Linked DNA regions of Homo sapiens: regions 2 and 3 are each linked to region 1. The links are contacts of gene promoters, found by promoter capture Hi-C in blood cells and fetal thymus (Javierre and others, 2016). All regions are on one chromosome and are shown on one strand. Each heading gives the region's core, a stretch centred on a gene start or on the middle of the fragment in contact. The rest is flanking DNA. Distances are from core to core; before and after follow the strand shown. Region 1 holds the start of KLHDC2 (kelch domain containing 2). Region 2 overlaps SOS2 (SOS Ras/Rho guanine nucleotide exchange factor 2). Region 3 overlaps SOS2 (SOS Ras/Rho guanine nucleotide exchange factor 2).

Region 1 (3,120 bases), core at 297-2,796:
TTCGTTCTTGTTGCCCAGGCTGGAGTGCAATGGTGCCCTTTTGGCTCACTGTAACCTCCGCCTCCCGGCTTCAAGAGTTTCTCCTGCCTGAGCCTCCCAAGTAGCTGGGATTACAGGCGCCGGCCACCAAGCCTGTGTAATTTTTTTGTATTTTCAGTAGAGACAGAGTTTCGCCATTTTGGCCAGGCTGGTCTCGAACTCCTGGCCTCAGGTGATCCGCCTGCCTCGGCCTTCCAAAGTGTTGGGATTACAGGCGTGAGCCACCGCGCCCAGCCGAGATATTAATTTTGGATTCTACTAAGGACGACGGGAGCCAGCTCAAGGTTTTTAAGTGACTCGATCAGATTCACGAGGTTGGTTCACAAGGAACTTCGATAACCCCAAAGTCTAGTGAGCATAATTCGACTGGGAGAAGACACTGCTGCAAGGAATTCTGTGAACCAGACAGATTTGAGGGCACCAACCAGGGTGGATGGCAGATAAGGTCTTAACAGCCTCAAGGTGATTTGCTTCCTTGTTGAAGGCTTTAATTAATCCTCTTAAGTAACTTTCAAGTTCTTGAGTTCAAGTAAACACACTGGCACACTAGGGGAGGAGTGGCAGGCTATAAGCATTTTAATAATTAAAAAAAAAAAGCCTTTTATTGTTCAAAGTGTTCCTTTTCTATGGAGTGCTCCCAACCAGAAGATGAGGGAAATGGAGATAATGAAGCACGTCCCTCCTACCAAACACGATAAATTCTACAGGCACTGTAAGATCAAGAATTTAAGATTATTTTTGTCCCACCCTATTTTACAGGTGAGGTATCAAGCACAGTAACTCGTAATTTTCTTTTGGCCCAATTGAAAGGTATCATATAAGAGAAAGCTGTGTGTGCGTGAAAAGGATCCGCCTTTCTTTCTGAAGAAAAGGGTGGTTACGGCTTCGGAAACGCTTTTCAAGCCAACTCTGCAGCCCGGCTGGCGGCGGCAGCGGCGGCGGCGGCAACGTCAGATTCCCGCAGAGGCGGCGCCCGGCAGGGGCGGCAGGAGCTCAGGAGAGGCCCCCGGGGATCGGGCTGGGCCCCACGTGAGAGCTAAGCGACTGCCCTCGCGCCCGCAGAACAGCAGGGCCTGCATCGACTCTAAGGCGAGACCAGAAACTTGCTAGTGGAGCAATTCTGGTGCCCCTGCCCGGGCTGTGAACCCTCTGAGATCATCCCTCAATCAAACGAATAGAAATCCTCGGGAAGAAAAAAAAAATTGCGGCAATCCGGCTAAAATTCAGCAGCTTTCAGGGACCGATTCAGGACATTATCCCTGTGGTTCCCTCAGTGAAAGGAGACTCGAAGCGCGACTAGAAGTCGCCGGGCCCCATAGATCTGCGGTGCCCAGGCCGTAGGCGGAGGCGCGGGCAGAGGCGGCGGCGGCGGCGGCGGCGGCTGGAGGACCCGGCGCTGGGGGCGCTGAGCGGCAGCCTCGCTTCCGGAGCTCGGCGGGCGGCGTCAGCGGAACGGGCGGCTTCCGGCCGCGGCGTAAACAAGGCCGTGGACTGCAGGAGGCGGGGCAGACGGGCTGCAATAGGGAGCCGGCCCGACGCGGACCGCTTCCCTGCAGTGCCCCGAGTCCCGGGCCCGCGCCGCCGCCGCCCGGCTCCGCTCGCGGCCCCTCTGTCTGCAGGCGTGCCCCGGCGGCGGCGGAGAGCCGTCCTCGGCCGAGGAGGCTGGGAAACGCGAGCGCAGGCGGCAGAGAGGCCTCAACGCCGTCCCTTTCGCCACCGCCTTTTCCTTGCCTCGCGCCGCTGTGCATTTCTCTCCTTTTCCTTTGTTTTTTTGGCCCCTCGCGGGTGTGGGCATTGTTGGTTAGCAAAAGTGCAGCCTCAAGATGGCTGATGGCAACGAGGATCTGCGGGCTGACGACTTGCCTGGGCCAGCCTTCGAGAGCTATGAGTCCATGGAGCTTGCCTGCCCCGCTGAGCGCAGCGGCCACGTAGCCGTCAGCGACGGGCGCCACATGTTCGTCTGGGGCGGCTACAAGGTCAGTGAGTGGCCGGGCCGCGACGGACGTCGCTCGGCTGTGACTCGGGTCTGCGTTCGCGGCCAGGCGGGGAGGCCAGAGCGGGCCGCCGAGGGCGCTCCCCGCCTGCGTCGCGCGCCCCACCTCAGACTCTGCCCGTTGGTTGTTTTTTTTTTGCGCGCGGGAATCTTCCTTCTCTCGAGTACCCCAACCCGTCTCGAACCTCCAGGGCTGCTGTCATGTCACCCTGGTGCTCACAAAGCCAACTCACTCCCACCCCCGTTGTTGCCATTGGAGCGTTATTCCGGGGAAGGCCCTGTTAATGTTGCTTGGGCGGTGCATTCGGAAGGGTTGGGGTGTGAAAGGTGACGGTGTGTGATATCACTCAGACGCGTTATGAGGACGGCCTACGAGGACTTCACCCTCTGGAGCTGGGAACCGCTGCCCACTTACAGGGAGGCCGAGGTGTAGGAAAACTGGAATTCCAAAAGGTTACAGGAACCACCTTATTCAGCCTTCCCGCCTGTGCAAATGGCCATCAGGACTGTTTTCCTTCTGGCTTCAGCTGGGTTGAAGTTTTTCAGCAGACACCCCTATTAAGATAATGGAAAAGCTCCACCAGTAACCAAAAAATCCCCAGCATCAAATGAACTACAGAGTGCAGCTCTTTGACTCTCCGATCCCCTGGTTATAAACAACGTGATTAGTTAGCAGTTTAAAGCCAGTTGCCATTCTTTACCCTGCTAACCTCGGAAATCTAGAATTTTATTTGCTAGGATGGCTCTGAGCCAGTCCTACCACAAAATTCCTCTTTGGTCTTGAAAATGTTCTCCGCCCTCCCCACGCCCGTGCCTTGGATGACTTGCTTTGTGATTGTTTTTAGCTTATGGTACAGCTGACTTGATCATAGTTGACCATTTTTGAGATAGCTTTCAAAGATGGCTGTCCTGATACTTTATTTTGGTTTAACTGCAAAAGTAATTTTTTGCCAATCCTAATGAATCTGCAGTGTTTTCCCCAGTTTCCAATGAATGTGGTTAGAAAATAGAAAGGGGGCCGGGCGCGGTGGCTCACGCCTGTAATCCTAGCACTTTGGGAGGCCAAGGTAGGTGGATCAGCTGAAGTC
Region 2 (3,120 bases), core at 201-2,700, 410 kb after region 1:
AGCAAACTGAGTCTCAGAGATTAAGTGAATTGCTCAAGGTAACACAACCATTAACTGGGGCTGGGCGTGATGGCTCACGCCTGTAATCCCAGCACTTTGGGAGGCTGAGTCAGGAGGATTACCTGAAGTCAAGAGTTTGAGAACAGCCTGGCCAACATGGGGAAACCCCATCTCTACTAAAAATACAAAAATTAGCCAGGTGTGGTGGCATGCGCCTGTAGTCCCAGCTACTTAGGAGGCTGAGGCAGGAGGACTCCTTAAACCCAAGAGGCAGAGGTTGCAGTGAGCCAAGATCGCGCCACTGCACTCCAGCCTGGGTGAAAGAGCGAGATTCCGCCGCAAACAAACAAACAAAACTATTAATTGGCCCAAAGCCTTAAGTTCTAACTTCAAATCTTATTTTTTTAAGTCTGCTACACAGTCCAGGTATGGTGCCTCATGGTCAACAGAACAGCCTAGCCAATATGGTGAAACTCTGTCTCTACCAAAAAAATACCAAAATTAGCCAGGCGTGGTGGTCCACACTTGTAGTCTCAGTCACTCAAGAGGCTAAGGCAGGAGAATCGCTTTAACCCGGGAGGCGGAGGTTGCAATGAACTGAGACTGTGCCACTGCACTCCAGCCTGGGCAACAGAGTGAGACCCTGTCTCTAAATAAATAAATAAATAAAGTACGCTACACAGCTTCTAAAGATGCTTTTTGTTTTTAGTTTTATTAAGGAAGCATTATTTTATCTTAAACTGAATGAATTTTTTTTTAAGTTAAAACAATTGAGTTTGGCCCGAAAAAGGATTTCATCTAACTCTTCCAATTTCACTGAATATCTAGGATGACAGCTTTATTAATAACTGGGCCCTTTAACATTCAAATTCCACAGCAAAAATTCCTAATAAAATAGGACTGAAACAAGAAATGTGTTGAGTGCTTTTAATGAGTATCCAAAGTTCTTATAGACTGTGTATTTAATGCATACTTTATATGAATATATGAGTTAACTTTAAAAATATTCCTCTCTTGAAGTAATTTTGAGAATTAAGTATAATTTGTATTCCATGATAACAAATTTTTGACAATAGAGAAGTGGAAGATAATAAACAATGGGAATTTATAGTACAGAAGGCAGGGAGAAGATGGTAAGTTCAGTTTTAAACATGTCATATTTGAAGTGCGTTTAGGGTATCCAAGTGCATCAATTCAAGGCAGCTGGTTATATGAAAGTGTATAGATACATACACATATGTACACGGTACACAGTGCTTAAAAGAAAGTGATGGCCTGGAAATACAAATAAGAAGTCACCAGTATATAGACATGAAGTCACCCAAGGAGAGCACAGAACAGAAAAACAGGGGCTGATAACAGAAGTTGGATAATAGCTATAATAATTAAGAGACTTAGAAGAAGAAATCAGAGAAGACGAAAATTGGGAACATGTAGTATCACAGGAGCTGATATGGTTTGATTTTGTGTCCCCGTCCAAATCTCATGTTCAACTGTAATCCCCAATTTTGGAGGTGGGGCCTAGTGGGAGGTAACTGGATCATGGGGGTGGATTTCTTCCTTTAATGCTGTTCTTGTAATAGAGTTCTCAGGAGATCTAGTTGTTTAAAAGTGTGTGGCACCTCCCTGCTCCTTCCTCTTGCTTTGACCATGTGAAGACGTGCCTGCTTCCCTTTTGGCTTCCGCCATGATCGTAAGTTTCCTGAGGCCTCCCCAGCCGTGCTTCCTGTAGAGCCTGTGGAACTCTGAGCCAATTAAATCTCTTTTCTTTATAAATCACCCAGTCTCAGTCTTCTTTTTCTTTTTTTTGTTGAGACAGAGTCTCACTCTGTAGCCCAGGCTTGAGTGCAGTGTTGCAATCTCGGCTCACTGCAACCCCCACCTCCTGGGTTCAAGTGATCCTCCTGCCTCCAAGTGATCCTCCTGCCTCTGCCTCTGTAGTAGCTAGAACTACAGGTGTGCACCACCATGCCCGCTAGTGTGTGTGTGTGTGTGTGTGTGCATATATATATATATATATATATATATATATATATATATATACACACATATACACACACATATATATATATATATTTTTTGGAGACAGGGTCTTGCTCTGTCACCTAGGCTGGAGTGTAGTGGCACGATCTCGGCTCACTGCAACCTCCGCCTCCCGGGTTCAAGCAATTCTCCTGCCTCAGCCTCCCGAGTAGCTGGGATTACAGGTGCATGCCACCACACCCAGCTAATTTTTGCATTTTTTAGTAGAGACAGGGTTTCGCCAGGCTGGCAAGGCTGGTCTGGAACTCCTGACCTCAGGTGATCCGATCCACCCACCTCAGCCTCCCAAAGTGCTGGGATTACAGGCATGAGACATCACGCCCAGCCTTCAGGTATACAGGAACCAAGAGATAAGAGCAGTAACAAATACTACAGACATTAAGTATGAAATAAAAATATCCACTGGATTTGGCAATTAAGTTACTTGTCAAAGGCAATTTATATCCTGATTAAAACATACATGGTAGTGTTTTCATAAAGAATGGTAAAAAATAATATAAAGACAATTGGCTGCAAAGAAAAAATGAGAGAGGAAATGAAAAAACTTTCTTCACTCTAGTTAATTATTCTACTAGAGTGAAGAAAGGTTTGTTCATTTGTTTGCTTGTTTGTTTCAGGACTATAAGGATTTTTACCATATTCAAACGTCAAGGGGTAAAAGCCAGTTTATTTTTTATTTTTATTTTTTTTGAGACTGGGTCTCACTCTGTACCCAAGGCTGGAGTGCAGTGGCGTGATCATGACTCATTGCAGCCTTGACCTCCCAGGCTCAAGCAATTCTCCTGGCATGCCACAGGTGCACGCCACCACACTCGGCTAAGTTTTTATATTTTGTAGAGATGAGGTCTCCCTATTTTGCCCAGGCTGGTCTCAAACACCTGGGTCCAAGCAATCCTCTGACCTTAGCCTCCCAAAGTGCTGGGATTATAGGCAAGAGCCACCACGTCTGGCTGGAAAAGTCAGTTTAGATGTAGAAGTTTTACATATTTAGCCAAGTATTACCTATGCCAACATAACTTTTGTTGTTAGTGTTGAGATAGTAAAAATAAAATTTTATTTGTATCTCTCCACTTATTT
Region 3 (3,120 bases), core at 431-2,930, 360 kb after region 1:
AAGTATAGGCAGGGTAGACATGAAATTCTCATCCACCATAAGAGGAGATCAGTAAACATTGTCTAAAATTAATGACTCAAGAGAGACTACAAAAACATCATTTAGAAATGTGGAAGTGTCCTTGGAGAACAAGAAAAGGAGTGGGGAGACTTGAGGTAGAGAACCACTGTTAATTTCATTTTAAGTGTCTTAGCACTATTTCCCTTTTAAATTCTATTAATATGTCACTTTGATAAATTTTTTTTTGGTAGGGAGGACAGGGTCTTGCTATGTTGCCCAGGCTAGTCTTGAACTGCTATGTTGCCCTGACCTCAAGTGATACTCCTGCCTCAGCCTCCCAAAGTGGTAGGATTACAGGTATGAGCCACTGTGCCTGGCCAGATAAAAATTTTTTAACCTAAAATATAAAATTAAACATTTAAAAGACTAAGCTTATTTTTCTCATAAGATAGGGAAACTTGCTACTATATATTTTACTATGCTCGAAGCAGATGTTCTCCAGATTGAGAGAATTATACCCAAAGGTGCTGTGTTCATTTTTGAGTTATTTTGTTTTAAACAAATGACCACAGAAAGAAAGTTTACAGCATTAAAAGTTATAAATTATGAAATAATTAGGAATGATAGAATAGTGCTTTACTTAAAATTTACTGCTTTAATTAAATAAGATGATGTAAAAAAAAATAAGTGACTGAGGATATCCCGGGAACCTGATAAACATTTACTATATTATTGCCATGGGAAAATGATTTGAAAAGGGTAAGGAAGAAAGACAACTGACATGAAATTACTATTCATTCTATGCCAAGCAATATTTTAGATGGTGTTTTTTTGTTTGTTTGTTTTGTTGTTTTCTTTTTTTGAGATGGAGTCTCACTCCGTTGCCCAGGCTGGAGTGTGGTGGCCTGATCTCAGCTCACCACAACCTCTGCTTCCTGGGTTCAAGTGATTCTCCTGCCTCAGCCTCCTGAGTAGCTGGGACTACAGGCGTGCACCACCATATCCGGCTAATTTTTGTAATTTTTTAGTAGAGACAGAGTTTCACTATGTTGGCCAGGCTGGTCTTGAACTCCTGACCTCGTGATCCACCTGCCTTGGCCTCCCAAAGTGCTGGGATTACAGGCGTGAGCCACCACACCCGGCTAGGTGTTCTATACAGTTATTTCATTTAATCCTTAACAAGTGTGGGGAAGGTAAGTAATTTCTTCAAGGCCATACAGCCCTTAGAACAGATCATAAAAAATGATGAAAATAAACTATAGTGAAGCTTAAGTAGTACACAGTTGTAAGCAAATAATTAAATTTATTTATAACTTTTCTTGTTCTTTAATATTGCCAAAACTCAAAATACTCAAATATAATCAACCAGATTATTATCTTTACAGTCATTTCATTAAGAATCAACTTAAATTATACTTACTTGAATGTGGCAAAAGCACTGGAGCAAAGATGCTATTGCTGCCTATTGGAATAAGAAAAATTAATTTGAAAAGGAAGGTAACATGTAGGTATTATTTTTTAAATGTTTCCATAAATAATACGTAATACACAGTGCAGAATTTTATCATCATCTTTTGCCATGTTAGTTTTTTAAAAAATTAACTCAGAACCTTCTGTATCTAGAATGGTTTTCCTTCTTAGCATTAAGTGGTTCCCCCTCTATCACAGAACTTATCTATTTGTTTTCTTATTCATCATCTATTGCTCCCTTTAGACTGGTAGTGGGACCCAAAAGGTACTAAACAAATCTTTGTTGAATGAGTAAATTAGAAGATAATATGCATCAACAATGCACAAATTATGCTCTACTTCTTGTATTAATCATTATTTTCACATTTAGATATCACTTTTCACACTAATATAGTTTGCAAAGGATTCTATAGTTCCCTAATTAAAATGATAAGAATTATCTGAGACACAGGATTCCTTTTTTACCAAGCGGTTTACATCAAATACTTACCACAGGAGCTGTTGAGATCCACATCTAAAAATACACTAAGGTCTGAAGAAGCAGATACTGGTGGAGTAGATGGTGTATTTGGAGAGGTTGGTGCTGACACTGTTGATTCCAGCTCAGTTTCAGCAATCCGACTAAAGCTTATTTTACATGGTTCTCTTTCTAATGGTGTTGGGTGACCTCGTAAAGTACCTGAGGTAGAGCCATGTCGGCCTGTGTTAGGCCTTATTCCAGGAGATTTTAAGGAAAAAGTTGATTTCCTAGGCTGAGAAAAGCAAACATAATTAATGTCACAAATTTGCATAGACAACAATTTGTTTCTGTGACTTAGAGCTACCTTATTAGTCTTATTAGTTCTTAAGCATACAGTTCTTAAGCGTGCAGTCCTTCAGTCTGCAATGACAGCCTGTATCATTCTAGTAGAATCTTCTGGATTTGACTGGCTTAATTTTAAAATGAATTGGAATATAAGTAAGTCTCTTTTCAGCACTGCAGAAATAAAATTCTTGAAATTTTATGTGAAAATCACATTTTACTCCTAAAACATATGAACCTAAACTTCTCTTTGAAAATATCTATATAGATTTTACAAACATTTACTGGGAACATAATTTATGAAACATATTATGCTATATGCTTCAGAAAAAAAAAAGATCATTTTTTCCCCTTCCTATACTAAATGATCAACCTCTACATTGATGCTTTAAAAATCTTTGGAGAAAATTCCTATCATTGTCTCCCACCATCACCTCTGTCCCATTTTTCAAGTTCTGGCAGGAGTAATCAAATAAAAAACACAGAACTCAGATCAGAAAACTTGAGTTAAGATCTCAACTGTGCCAATATCTAGCTATGCAGCCTTGAAAAACTTATTTAACCCCTTGGAATCTCACTATTTTCCTTTGTAAAATGAGAATAAGATCTATGAGGGGTTTTCAAAAAGTGCATGGCAAATGTCTATTATGAAATAACTATGCATGACTTTCATTTTTTTCCATCAAAATAAACTCATACTAACTTATTATAACATGTCTGAACAGTTTGAGATGCTCAAACATATCTAGTTTGAGATACTCAAACATATCTAGTTTGAGATACTAAGAAGGATAACACATCGGTTTGTAAAGAATCCCTATCAGAGGAACACGAATTCTGCTAAAATT

Evidence for each region. Contacts are between HindIII fragments. The CHiCAGO score rates a contact against its expected background, and 5 or more counts as called.
Region 2: a contact is called between a fragment that was not itself captured here and the fragment with the promoter of KLHDC2 in region 1, in 1 of 17 cell types (total B cells). The highest score is 5.3, in total B cells.
Region 3: a contact is called between a fragment that was not itself captured here and the fragment with the promoter of KLHDC2 in region 1, in 2 of 17 cell types (naive CD4 T cells and fetal thymus). The highest score is 5.8, in naive CD4 T cells.

The regions. Positions count from the first base shown.
Region 1 is chr14:49,766,607-49,769,726 of GRCh38, forward strand. KLHDC2 (kelch domain containing 2) reads left to right here and starts at 1,547. Exons shown (of 13, transcript NM_014315.3): 1 at 1,547-2,015. The coding sequence starts at 1,863. RefSeq lists silencers at 947-1,006, 1,347-1,426, 1,597-1,776. The HindIII fragment of the contact is 13,494 bases long and covers 1-3,120 here.
Region 2 is chr14:50,176,670-50,179,789 of GRCh38, forward strand. All of the region lies in intron 7 of SOS2 (SOS Ras/Rho guanine nucleotide exchange factor 2), which reads right to left. Among named protein-coding and RNA genes, the nearest start is that of SOS2, 53 kb to the right of the region's middle. The HindIII fragment of the contact is 5,834 bases long and covers 1-3,120 here.
Region 3 is chr14:50,128,541-50,131,660 of GRCh38, forward strand. It overlaps SOS2 (SOS Ras/Rho guanine nucleotide exchange factor 2), which reads right to left. Exons shown (of 23, transcript NM_006939.4): 20 at 1,961-2,222; 21 at 1,421-1,462. Among named protein-coding and RNA genes, the nearest start is that of VCPKMT, 14 kb to the left of the region's middle. The HindIII fragment of the contact is 830 bases long and covers 1,266-2,095 here.